Regions from separate parts of the Homo sapiens genome. Here all the other regions are linked to region 1. The links are contacts of gene promoters, found by promoter capture Hi-C in human tissues and cell types (Jung and others, 2019). All regions are on one chromosome and are shown on one strand. The core of a region is centred on a gene start or on the middle of the fragment in contact, and the rest is flanking DNA. Distances in the headings are between cores, read along the strand shown.

What was found. Contacts are between HindIII fragments. The study calls those that stand out against the background at their distance.
Region 2: a contact is called between a fragment that was not itself captured here and the fragment with the promoter of EIF1 in region 1, in 1 of the 25 tissues and cell types used here (dorsolateral prefrontal cortex).
Region 3: the fragment with the promoter of GJD3 here is called in contact with the fragment with the promoter of EIF1 in region 1 in 1 of the 25 tissues and cell types used here (heart right ventricle).
Region 4: a contact is called between a fragment that was not itself captured here and the fragment with the promoter of EIF1 in region 1, in 1 of the 25 tissues and cell types used here (dorsolateral prefrontal cortex).

Annotation. Positions count from the first base shown.
Region 1 is chr17:41,687,470-41,690,169 of GRCh38, forward strand. EIF1 (eukaryotic translation initiation factor 1) reads left to right here and starts at 1,416. Exons shown (of 4, transcript NM_005801.4): 1 at 1,416-1,600; 2 at 2,309-2,472; 3 at 2,619-2,700. The coding sequence starts at 1,570. RefSeq lists enhancers at 1,117-2,025, 2,011-2,100, 2,026-2,700 and a silencer at 1,241-1,630. The HindIII fragment of the contact is 6,244 bases long and covers 1-2,700 here.
Region 2 is chr17:40,264,984-40,267,683 of GRCh38, forward strand. It overlaps WIPF2 (WAS/WASL interacting protein family member 2), which reads left to right. Exons shown (of 8, transcript NM_133264.5): 5 at 1-163. Among named protein-coding and RNA genes, the nearest start is that of CDC6, 22 kb to the right of the region's middle. The HindIII fragment of the contact is 4,401 bases long and covers 1-2,700 here.
Region 3 is chr17:40,363,308-40,366,060 of GRCh38, forward strand. GJD3 (gap junction protein delta 3) reads right to left here and starts at 1,430. Exons shown (of 1, transcript NM_152219.4): 1 at 1-1,430. The coding sequence starts at 508. GJD3-AS1 (GJD3 antisense RNA 1) reads left to right here. Exons shown (of 1, transcript NR_186704.1): 1 at 1-2,128. The HindIII fragment of the contact is 8,775 bases long and covers 1-1,669 here.
Region 4 is chr17:40,102,888-40,105,770 of GRCh38, forward strand. No RefSeq gene overlaps it. Among named protein-coding and RNA genes, the nearest start is that of NR1D1, 3.7 kb to the left of the region's middle. RefSeq lists an enhancer at 75-954. The HindIII fragment of the contact is 5,880 bases long and covers 1-2,883 here.

The DNA of each region.
Region 1 (2,700 bases), core at 166-2,665:
TTTGTTTGGCTTGCAGTGTTGTATCAAAAATTCAATTTATTCCTGTAATCCCAGCACTTTGGAAGGCCGAGGCAGGCAGATCACCTGAGGTCAGGAGTTCAAGACCAGCCTGGCCAACATGGTGAAAACCCATCTCTACTAAAAATATTTTTAAAAAACTAGCCGGGCGTGGTGGTGGATGCCTGTAACCCCAACTACTCGGGAGGCTGAGGCAGAAGAATTGCTTGAACCCAGGAGACGGAGGTTACAGTGAGCCGACACAGTGCCACTGCACTCCAGCCTCGGCGACAAAGTGAGACTCTGTCTCAAAAAAAAAATCAATTTATTGGCAATATTTAAAAATCAAGAGATTTTATGTAAACACCTGGATTTCCTGGCACTCTTGAAAAAGATCTAGCACAATGGGCTGGAGGTGAGCGGCCACTGCAGCCCGTAGTTCTTACTCCAGCCCCCAGTCCACCCCATTACATCACACTTGGCTGTTTGCACTCCTTGATCCTACTTACCTGCCTATCCCCGGAGGCCTTTGAGTCTAAAATTCCTGGTCTCTTTTCACCACTCTACTTACCCCTACAACTGAGTGTTGAAATAAATAAACTGAAAGCAAGAAAGGTTGACTGTTTTGAAGGAAATATTTCATCTAAACTCTAGGAAGGCTCTACTCCACACAAGCTGTGCCACATGAAGGACGCCCTCTGGTGCCAGAATTATTCTCGGGGGGGCCCAGAACCAGTTACTATACCTTGAACTCATGCCAATGAGCTGGGCACACTTTTTCCTTAGATGGATTAATCTAATCTAAATGAAAATTTTAGATCGGATTAACCCACTTTAGAATAAATCTAAATGGCAATCTAAATTATGCGGTTACCGTTTTGATTATATTATTGTATGTTGATTAATCAAAGTGCCGCCCTAAATCCCGCTGTGACTCCGTGGGTAGTAGGGTGGGTAGGTAGGTGGGTTTGACACAACGGGGATTTCTCGTGTTTGGGAGGCTCATCATCTAAATCCTCTCTAAGGAGTGTTCATTTACCATATGAAACTCCCCTTTTCGAGAAGACAGGGATGCAACAGGGTCAAGAAGGTGGAACGTACCAAAGGACACAGTGCGTAGGCGCGCTCGAAACCTGGGCCGGTATTCTCGGCACCCAGACACCGTCCACTCGCACTGCGCAGGCTCCGAGACAGATCAAGCTTTCCCTCCCCCTCCCAGCTCTCCTAGAGTCAAGAGGACGCCCTCCTGCCGCAGACTTCCTGCGCAAGCGCCATCCCATGTCCCCGCCTCCAAACCAATTGGAAGCGGCGCCGCCTGGGCGCTTGGGGCACGACGCTGTGGGTGGGGTCAGGACGTGAGGGCAGCGCGCTGGCGTCAGAGGCGCGGCTATATAACTAAACACAGGCACCGCCCCTCTGCCCCAGTCACTGAGCCGCCGCCGAGGATTCAGCAGCCTCCCCCTTGAGCCCCCTCGCTTCCCGACGTTCCGTTCCCCCCTGCCCGCCTTCTCCCGCCACCGCCGCCGCCGCCTTCCGCAGGCCGTTTCCACCGAGGAAAAGGAATCGTATCGTATGTCCGCTATCCAGAACCTCCACTCTTTCGGTAAGCTATGGGAAAGGTCGCGGGCCCGGGTGGGGCAGCGGGGCCTTCCGGGCCCGGAGACGTGTTCCGGGAAGTTGCCAAGCGCTCCGGGCCTTCGTAAGCTCGGGCAGGGGAAACTTGACCAGGGTCGCAGGGCAGCGGGATCAAGGCCTGGGCCCCGGGGTCGGACCCTGAGCGCGACCGGAAGGAGCAGGCGGTAGGTCAGCCCTTGGGCGGGCCCGGCGTCTCAGTGGCGCATTTACTAATGGCTCCTGGGCCTCCTCGGGCCACACCCGCCCCTCCCGTCACCATTGCGTCACGTCCGTTACGTCACCACCCGTTGTCACGGATCCGGAGGGAAAGGCGGTGCCAGCCCTAAGTGGCAAGCGGGTGCACCAATGGGGGTGGGAGGCTTAGCCCCGCCTCGGGAGCTCGGGTTCCGGCGGGTTGCATCAGCTGGGTGGGGCACCGCCTGGCAGCCCGGACTCCCCCGACATGTGATCGGCTTCCCAGGGAGGGCGGGAGGCCCGGGCGTTCCCCGAGCCTGGGGAAGCTGGCCGTCCCGGACTGACCTGCTCGGGGAGAGCCAGCAAAGGACACATTCGGCCTGGCCCAAGCCCTGACGATTTCAGTGTTGTTTTCTGCACGCGCAAAACACCTGGGGACCGAGGGGATGGCAGTGGCATCCTATCTTTGACAGCTCTGAACGAGCTTAACCTTTTTTTTCAGACCCCTTTGCTGATGCAAGTAAGGGTGATGACCTGCTTCCTGCTGGCACTGAGGATTATATCCATATAAGAATTCAACAGAGAAACGGCAGGAAGACCCTTACTACTGTCCAAGGGATCGCTGATGATTACGATAAAAAGAAACTAGTGAAGGCGTTTAAGAAAGTAGGTCTTCAGTGAGATTTTGGGAAAGTCATAATGGATTTGTCCACAAGGGGGTGCCAGCTGTGTTGTATGTATTGTTAGCGGAAGGGGTGATAAATGCGTTCATGCTCTTGCTAGGCCTAATTCGTTTTCCTTTGTGCTTGCAGAAGTTTGCCTGCAATGGTACTGTAATTGAGCATCCGGAATATGGAGAAGTAATTCAGCTACAGGGTGACCAACGCAAGAACA
Region 2 (2,700 bases), core at 35-2,534, 1.4 Mb before region 1:
AATGAGTCAGCCCCTGAGCTGCCACAGAGACACAATTCTTTGCATAGGAAGACACCAGGGCCTGTCAGAGGCCTAGCACCTCCTCCACCCACCTCGGCCTCCCCATCTTTACTGAGTAATAGGCCACCTCCCCCAGCCCGAGACCCTCCCAGTCGGGGAGCAGGTAAGTGCTTGGAAGCACCTTTTTCCCTATCATGCTGTGAGTTGATTTTATCTTTCCCCAGAGCACTCCTTGAAGACAGTAATTCGTTTATTCACTCAGTGGGTTTATTGAGTACCTTTTTATGTGTCAGGTCTGTTGGTAGGGAAATAGCAATAAATAGAAAAGACAAAAAAATTTGACAGTCAAACTAGTAAAATATATAAATACATAGTATGCAGTATGCTTTAGAGAATTACAAAGCAGAGGAGAGGAATAAGATATACTGGGGCGGAGGTCGGGATGATGATATCTTTAATTGGAGGAGTGGGGAGAGAGTCAGGACAGTCCTTACTGATACGGTGAAAATTTGACAAAGACCTTAAGAAAGTGACGAGTAAGCTTAGTAGTTATCTAGGAGAACAGCTGTTGCAGGCAGTGGGAACAACAAATGCAGAGGCCATAAGGCAGAAGTATTCTTGAAACATTTTGGGGACAGCAAGGGGGCCATTGTGGCAAGACTACAAAGAGTGAGGGGAGGGAAGAGTGGTAGGACTTGGAGGTTGGAAAGCTGGAGCTGCAGGGGAGAGCGCACTGCAGGATTTTGCAAAGACCTTGGATTTAACTGTGTGAGATGGGAAGCCACTGGAGGGTTTTAAACAGAGAAGTAGTATGATTTGATTCACCTTTTAAAAAGATCATTAACTCCTATGTTGAGAACAGACCGCAGGAGGACAAAGGTGACAAAAGGAGACCAGTTACTGGGCTGTTGCAGTAAACGGCCAGATGGTTAGGACTACTGTGAATTTGTGGGAAGATAGGTGTTCAGTTTGAGACAAGTTTGAGATGCCTGTTAGGTAATCAAGAAGAGACAATGAATTGGTAATTGGCTATCAGACTCCAAAGTTGAGGGGAGAGGTTTCGGCTAGAGAGATACATTTGAATGGTGTTGAAAACCACATGCTGGATGAAGTCACCTAAGGAGTGAATATAGATAAGAAGAGGCCTAGGAGGCTGAGGCAGGAGAATCGCTTGAACTCAGGAGGCAGAGGTTGCAGTGAGCCGAGATCACGCCACTGCACTCCAGCCTGGGCGACAGAGTGACAGTCCATCTCAAAAAAAAAAAAAAAAAAAATGAGGGCTGAGCCCTCGCCCTCCTACATTAGAGGCAAAAGAGATGAAGAATACCCAGCAGAGGAAACAGAAAAGCTTCTAGTGAGGATGGAAGGAGAAAAACCAAGAATGTGATGGAAAAACTCCAAGGTAGAGTAAGTGGTCAGCTGTGCCCAGTGCTGCAGATGGGTCAGGTAAGTTAAAGACCAAGAACTGGCATTGGTCTTAGTATCATGGGACCCTTTTGAGTAGTTTCAGTGGAGTGGTGGAGGGTGAAAGTGAAAGCTTAATTGGAGTGGGTTCAAGAATGCAGGAATAGGAGGAGAGAAATTGGAGATAGCAATATAGAAATCTCTTAAAGAGTTCGCTGTAAAGTCCAGGAGAGAGGGGTGAAGATAAGTGAAGTGATTGTTGGACGAAGATGTGGGGTTGAGAGTTGTTTTTTTCCCATCCCAAGATGGGAGACCTATTTGTATGCTGATGGAATGAGTAGCATGAAACTTAGGAGAGAGGGAAAAAATTGAATCAGAAGAGAGGGAACAGATTGCCTGAATAATGACCTGGAGGAGGCCAGAGAAAAGAGAATGTGATCGATAGATAAAAAGGGTTGGCCTTAGATAGGAACATAGTTCTTCCATAGTAACAAGAGGGGAGGCAGAGCATATAGGCTTAGAAGCAAGTGGGTAGGTGGGTGTAGTGGTAGAAGCATGTGGAAAGTTTATTCTAATTTGCTTCTGTTTTCTCAGTGAAATGGAAAGCAAGAGCATCAGCTGTGATTGAGGCGAGGGAAGGAGAAGGAGAGTTGAGGAGAGAGAAGAGGCATGAAATGGTCATCTGGAGCGTGGGAGTGTGGGTGGACTAGGGAAGTGTGCTCAGATAGGCAACCACGCGAAGGGCCCACTTGAGATTATGGGCCATACATTTCATGTGAGATTAATTAGTCTCATGTGTTCAGTTGTGATTTGCAGGTACAGAAAAAGAGTAGAGCTGTGTTTAACCAGCGTTAGCATGTTTTAGGCATGTGCGACTCTAAGGGAGAGTGGGGCAGGAAGGGAAGGGTGTATGTGAGGGAGTGATTGCAATAATGGAGCCTAAGCTGGGTGAGGAGGGAATTTAGGAACCCTGGAAAAAGAAGAGGTTGTGTAATCTCGTTATAATTAGCATAACTGAAATTTTAGAGTGAGGGAGACCGTGACAGCTCTCTGGGGCCTTATTGGACATGGGAATTTTGGCTCCCATATCGTTGTATCATTAGACTTTGAGACATACCCTCCACAAACAGCTTCTTGGCCTTTATTTATTTATTTGTTTGTTTGTGTTTTGAGACAGAGCCTTGCTCTTTCGCCCAGGCTGGAGTGCAGTGGTGCAATCTCTGCTCATTGCAACCTCTTCCTCCCAGGTTCAAGTGATTGTTGTGTCTCAGCCTCCTGACTAGCTGGAATTACAGG
Region 3 (2,753 bases), core at 180-2,679, 1.3 Mb before region 1:
CGGCGCACGCGAAGTGCGGGGCCACGCGGAAGCCGTAGAGCAGCGCCTGGCCGCCCAGGAAGGTCAGCTCGGCCAGCAGGCGCAGCGCCACGCTCAGCAGGTAGCAGCGGCGCGCGCGGCGGGCGCGCAGGGCGCACGGCGCGCACTGGGCCTCGGGCAGTCCGGGGGCGCACTGCGCCGCCGCCTCAGCGCCGCCCGCCTCCTTGCCTGCCCGGTGCATGGAGTAGACGACGAACAGCACCGGGGGCGCCGAGAGCAGCAGGATGTGGAAGAGCCAGAAGCGGTAGTGGGAGACCGGGAAGGCGCGGTCGTAGCAGGTCTGGCGACAGCCCGGCTGCAGCGTGTTGCACACGAACTCCTCTTGCTCGTCCTCGAACACGGCGCCGCCCACCGTGGCCAGCACCAGGATGCGGAAGATCAGCATGACCACCAGCCAGAGGCGGCCCACGAGCGGCGACTGCAGCTGCACGGCGTCCAGCAGCGAGCCCAGGAACGCCCACTCCCCCATGGCGCTGGGGACGCGGGGCGGGGAGTCAGGGGATGGGGCAAGTCAGGGACCCCTGCCCCTTCCAAGCCTATCGGGGTGGGGTCCGTTGGACCTTCTCTGACTTCAGGGTGAGTCGTGAGGTAGGAGAGGCCCGGGTTTAGCGATGAGACCAGTATGAAACGGAGGGCCACGGGAGGGCCCGAGGGGAGCAGGCGACGCTCAGCTATGGGTTACCTTCTCTTTGGGACCGATGGGTGCTGGGGAGGATCCCCCATTTGCATTTTAGCCGCACCCCCTGAGCCGTCTCCGTTCGACCCTGGGATCCTCCAGATCCCAGATTCTTAGGAAGGACCTTGGAGATCAGCTGGACCAGCCCCTGACTTGCCTGGTTTCGGAAGCGGAAACCCAGCGGTGCCCTTAGCTGTCAAGGATGCTGTGGGAAGAGTGGAGCCTCGAACCCGAGACGCTAGACCCAATTTGGTGCCCATGGGAGGAGTGGGAGTGGCAGAGGCAGCGAGACCACTCCTTTCTTGGCCCACCATTTCTCTCACCATTTTTACTGCAGTGAACTCCTCTCAGGGTGGGGGGCTGGTACAGAGGCAACTCCGCTTTCATAACTCTCACAGGGTCCTTTGTCGGAGGTGTCCCTGCCCTCCTACCCCAGCGTGGTGGGAGTGCGACGCCAGGCTTCTCCCTCCTCCCTGGCCTCCTGTGCCTCCAGCCTCCACATCTCCTGAGATCCTCCCCACCCCACACTTACACAGGTCCCCACACGCCCCTGGTGCCCCTAAACCGCCACCCAACCCCACTCACCCTGGGGCCGGGACTGGGGTGTCAGAGCTGAGCCAGGGACCTTGGGAGGTGGCTGGGACCGGCGCCTCCTGCTCCCTCTTTCATTTTCCCTTTCGGATTTGGCCAGGATGGAGGACAGGACAGGATGGCTGAGAGGGGCTAGCGCTCCCCCTTCTCTTAAAGGAACAGGGTGACCCTGCTGGCTGGCTCCGCCCTTGGGAACAGGCACGGACCACGCCCCTTGCTGGGCTCTGTGGCCCTCACTCTTTAGCTAAATTTCCATCTGGAAATGGGGGAGGGGGGTAACCAGAGCCACATCCTTTATCGAGGAAGCTGGGGGATTCCTAGAAGCCCTTCCCAGACAGACCCTCAGTCTGGAGCCTAGATCCACTACGCACTAACCATGCCCTGTGAAGATGGTCTTCGGGGACAGAGGGAGGTTTGGTGCTGGAGTTTAAGGGGCAGCAAACATCTAACAGCTTCTGGTTCCAGCTCTGCCACCGCTCACCTTGGACAAATCATTCGGCGGTACTGAGCCAGGCTTTCCTGCCTTGTCAACAAAGGCGGCCAGTCCAGCTGACCCCCAAGTTTCCTTCCAGCTTTACATCTTTTTTGGAACGGGGTCTCTCTACATAGCCCAGGTCGATCTTGAACTCCTGGCTTCAAGTGATCCTCACACCTTAGCCTCCTGAGTAGCTGGGATTCTCTACTTCTTAATATTGAATTCCCAACCATATTACAGAGAACCAAAAAAACCCTTGTGCCTGCAAAAAAAAAAAAAAAAAAAAAAATCCCATATGGAAAACCATTAAAATATCCCAAGTGCCTGGCTTTGATAGTTAAATAAAATCTTTGGTTTCCTTCCCACTTTTCTGTTATTTCCAGCTTTACTATAATGAACATGTTATTTATTTATTTATTTTTAATTTGTTTGTTTTGAGATGGAGTCTAGCTCTGTCGCCCAGGCTGGAGTGCAGTGGCATGATCTTGGCTGAATGCAACCTCCGCCTCCCGGGTTCAAGCGATTCTCCTGCCTCAGCCTCCCCAGTAGCTGGGATTACAGGTGTGCGCCACCACGCCCGGCTAATTTTTGTATTTTTAGTAGAGGTGGGGTTTCGCCATGTTGACCAGGCTGATCTCGAACTCTTGACCTCAAACAATCCGCCTATCTCAGCCTCCCAAAGTGCCGGGATTACAGGCGTGAGCTACCACACCCGGCCTAACATGTTATTTTATTATTTATTTATTTATTTATTTATTGAGACAGAGTTTTGCTCTTGTTGCCCAGGCTGGAGTGCAGTGGTGTGATCTCAGCTCACCGCAACCTCCTCCTCCCGGGTTCAAGCGATTCTCCTGCCTCAGCCTCCTGAATAGCTGGGATTACAGGCATGTGCCACCATGCCCAGCTAATTTTGTATTTTTAATAGAGACAGGATCTCTCCATGTTGGTCAGGCTGGTCTCGAAATCCTGACC
Region 4 (2,883 bases), core at 72-2,571, 1.6 Mb before region 1:
AAGAATAATAATATGAGCACAGGAGTAAACTGGGTAGTGAGGACAGTGAGGTTGACTGCAGGAGCTTGACCACTCACCCTCTGACTCCTTGTAGAAGATGAGCTTCCTGGAATGGGCTAGGCTTTAGCTTTGTTCTCCTGCTCCCAAGAAAAGTGGGAGAGAGAGGGCAGTGGGCTCTTCTCTGGCCCTTTGGCCCAGAGTTGGGAAGCTGCAGCAGAGTGTGGGAGCAACTGGGAGGGGCTAAAACAAACAAGGAAAGAGGCTTTTCAGGAAAACTTGGTTCTCAGCCTCCACCCCCTCTCCCTCCACCCTCTGGGCTCTGGAGGGAAAGCTAGGAGGTGAATTGCCCTGTCCTGCCCTTGCCTGCTCTCTGTGACCTTGACTCCAAGTCAGAGCCAGGGCCAGAGCCCAGGTGTCTGTCAGGGCTGGACTCAAAATCAGGACCCCTGGCGTGCATCTAGCTCCCCACAGCACAGCACCACCACTAGCACCCTCCCTTTACTTGGCCGGGGTCCTCCCCAAGGCCCACAGCTCTGTTTGCTGCTGTGGAGGTCCTACCCACCCCCTGTATACTTGCTGGATGTTTGTTCTTCTAGGAGTGGGAGCTGGGGTGGGTCAAGACTCCTCGCCTGCTGCAATCAGTGAGAAGGAGGAGGGAGCAGAGGTAGAGAGAGCTGAAATTCAGTCAGCCTGACTCTCCTCTTGGCAAAACCTGGGTGGTTCTGCAGTCTGTGTGTGGTGTGAAGGCAGAGGCTGGGAGGGAGGGGGCAAAGGAGAGGGGTTACCCCCTTGCTCCTTCCTTCCTTCCTTTCCATTTCTTATAGGGCCCTTCCTTTTCTCCCTCACAAGTAATTCGGGTGTCTTTCTTCTACAGCTGGTGAGAGGAGTACAGAATGAAAAGGCAGGGTTCTCTCTTGGCCCCAGAAGCTTCTAGTCAGTCTGTGTACCCTGCTCCTTTCTCTGTCAGCAGCTGCTGGGAGAAGGGCAGAAACTCTGAGACCCAAAGCCACCAAAGGGAGGGGGGAAAGGCTGGGTTGTCTGGCTCTGGGTGATTCGGAGTAGAATCTTGGTTTCTCTTTGACCTCAACCTTGGCTGTAAGACCTTAAGACAACAGGTGTATCTCAACACAACCTTCCTCACCTATCCCTCCAGCTGGACATTGCTGTTCACTTCTTTTTTTTTTTGAGACAGAGTCCCACTCTATCGCCCAGGCTGGAGTGCAGTGGCTCACTGCAACCTCCACCTTCCGGGTTTAAGCCATTCTCCTGTCTCAGCGTCCCAAGTTGCTGGGACTGCAGGAGCACGCCACAATGCCTGGCTAATTTTTTTTATATTTTTAGTAGAGATGGGGTTTCACCATATTAGTCAGGCTGGTCTTGAACTCCTGACCTAAGGTGATCCACCCACCTCAGCCTCCCAAAGTGCTGGGATAGCAGGCGTGAGCCACCATGCCCGGCCTGCTGTTCACTTCTACACACACACACACACACCCCATTTCTCCCATAGCCCAGTTCAACTCAAGAAAGCACTTAACTCTTCATAAATAGTACTCAGATTGGATCCAGGTAGAAAAGATGCATATTCACAACCTGGTACAGCAAGGCACTGCCCTGGTTCTGCATACACTTCCACTTGGATTCCCAAGTCTGGGATTCTGGGGACGAACCTTCCCATTAGGGGCAGTGTTGGATCCTGCCTGTGTGTTTCCAAATATGTCTTTAATTTTCCTTGATTTATTTGGACTGCAGAGGACAGCAGACACAGAGGAGAAGAAGGAAAGGTATTGAGAACACTAAGCTCTGGTCAGTTATGTATGTGTGCACGTGTGTGTGTGTGTGTGTGTGATTCTATGACTATGAGTGAGACTGCATGTTTGTGTGTGAGTGTGAATGCTGTGTGTGTGGGTGTGCATGTTTGATCTGAGATCTGTTCTCCCTGTCAGTAGGTTGTTCTGGGTAACAGGGCAACACCCTGTGCAAATTCTGGGTGGCCTAAATCTTGGGCCAACTGCTTGACTGACTGACTGACTGACTGACTGACTGACTGAGGGTGGGTCCTTGCTGGAAACAGGTCAGGCTTCTGTAGATGCCTTCCCATCCCCCTCCTTTCTCACCAAGAAACCATTGCCCAGAGTAGAAACCTGTCTGCCCAGGTGATGCAAACCTGGTATAGAAATGCTGGGGATGCCCCTGAATCAGGGAACCAGCCATGTGCCTGGGAGAGACTCACTCCCTGCCCTCCTAAATCCTTTTCTTTGTCTCTAAAAGGCCAGCTATCTTTCCCAACCCCACCCAAAGCCTGGATGTTTTGGGGAGAACTTTAAGAACATGCCACAGGAAGGACAGAGTCTGAGCTAACTTGTTTCTCAGTGTGGTGGGGGGAGGGGGATGGAGAAAGCAAGGGCGAGGCATGAGCCAGGGCTGGGTTCCATGGATGTGTTTTGCCTCAGATTCTATCTTTACCTCACTACTGCTTTTTCCAAGGAAAGGAAACCATAAATATGTATTAAGTACCAACCGTATGCCAGGCACTGTGCAAAGTGTTTTGTACACATTATCTCATTTAATATTCACAACAACCCTATGCTGTAGGTCTCATTCTTATTTTAGAGATGGGGAAACTGAGACTTAGAGAACTTTATTAACTTGCCCAGGGTGCCAGAGGGTCTAGGTGATTAGTCTTGAAGCTGTAATTTGCATAGCACTTAAGACTGAGAAGATGTCCATCAAAGAATGATAGCGCGGATGGAGATTATTGGAGGGGCTAAATCTCCCCTCTAGCTATCTCTTGAACTACCACTGTCAGCGTCACAATGAAAATGGCAATGCTGGGGATTCAACCCCAGGCGTGAAGATGAAACTCTTTCTGCTAGCAAGACTGCC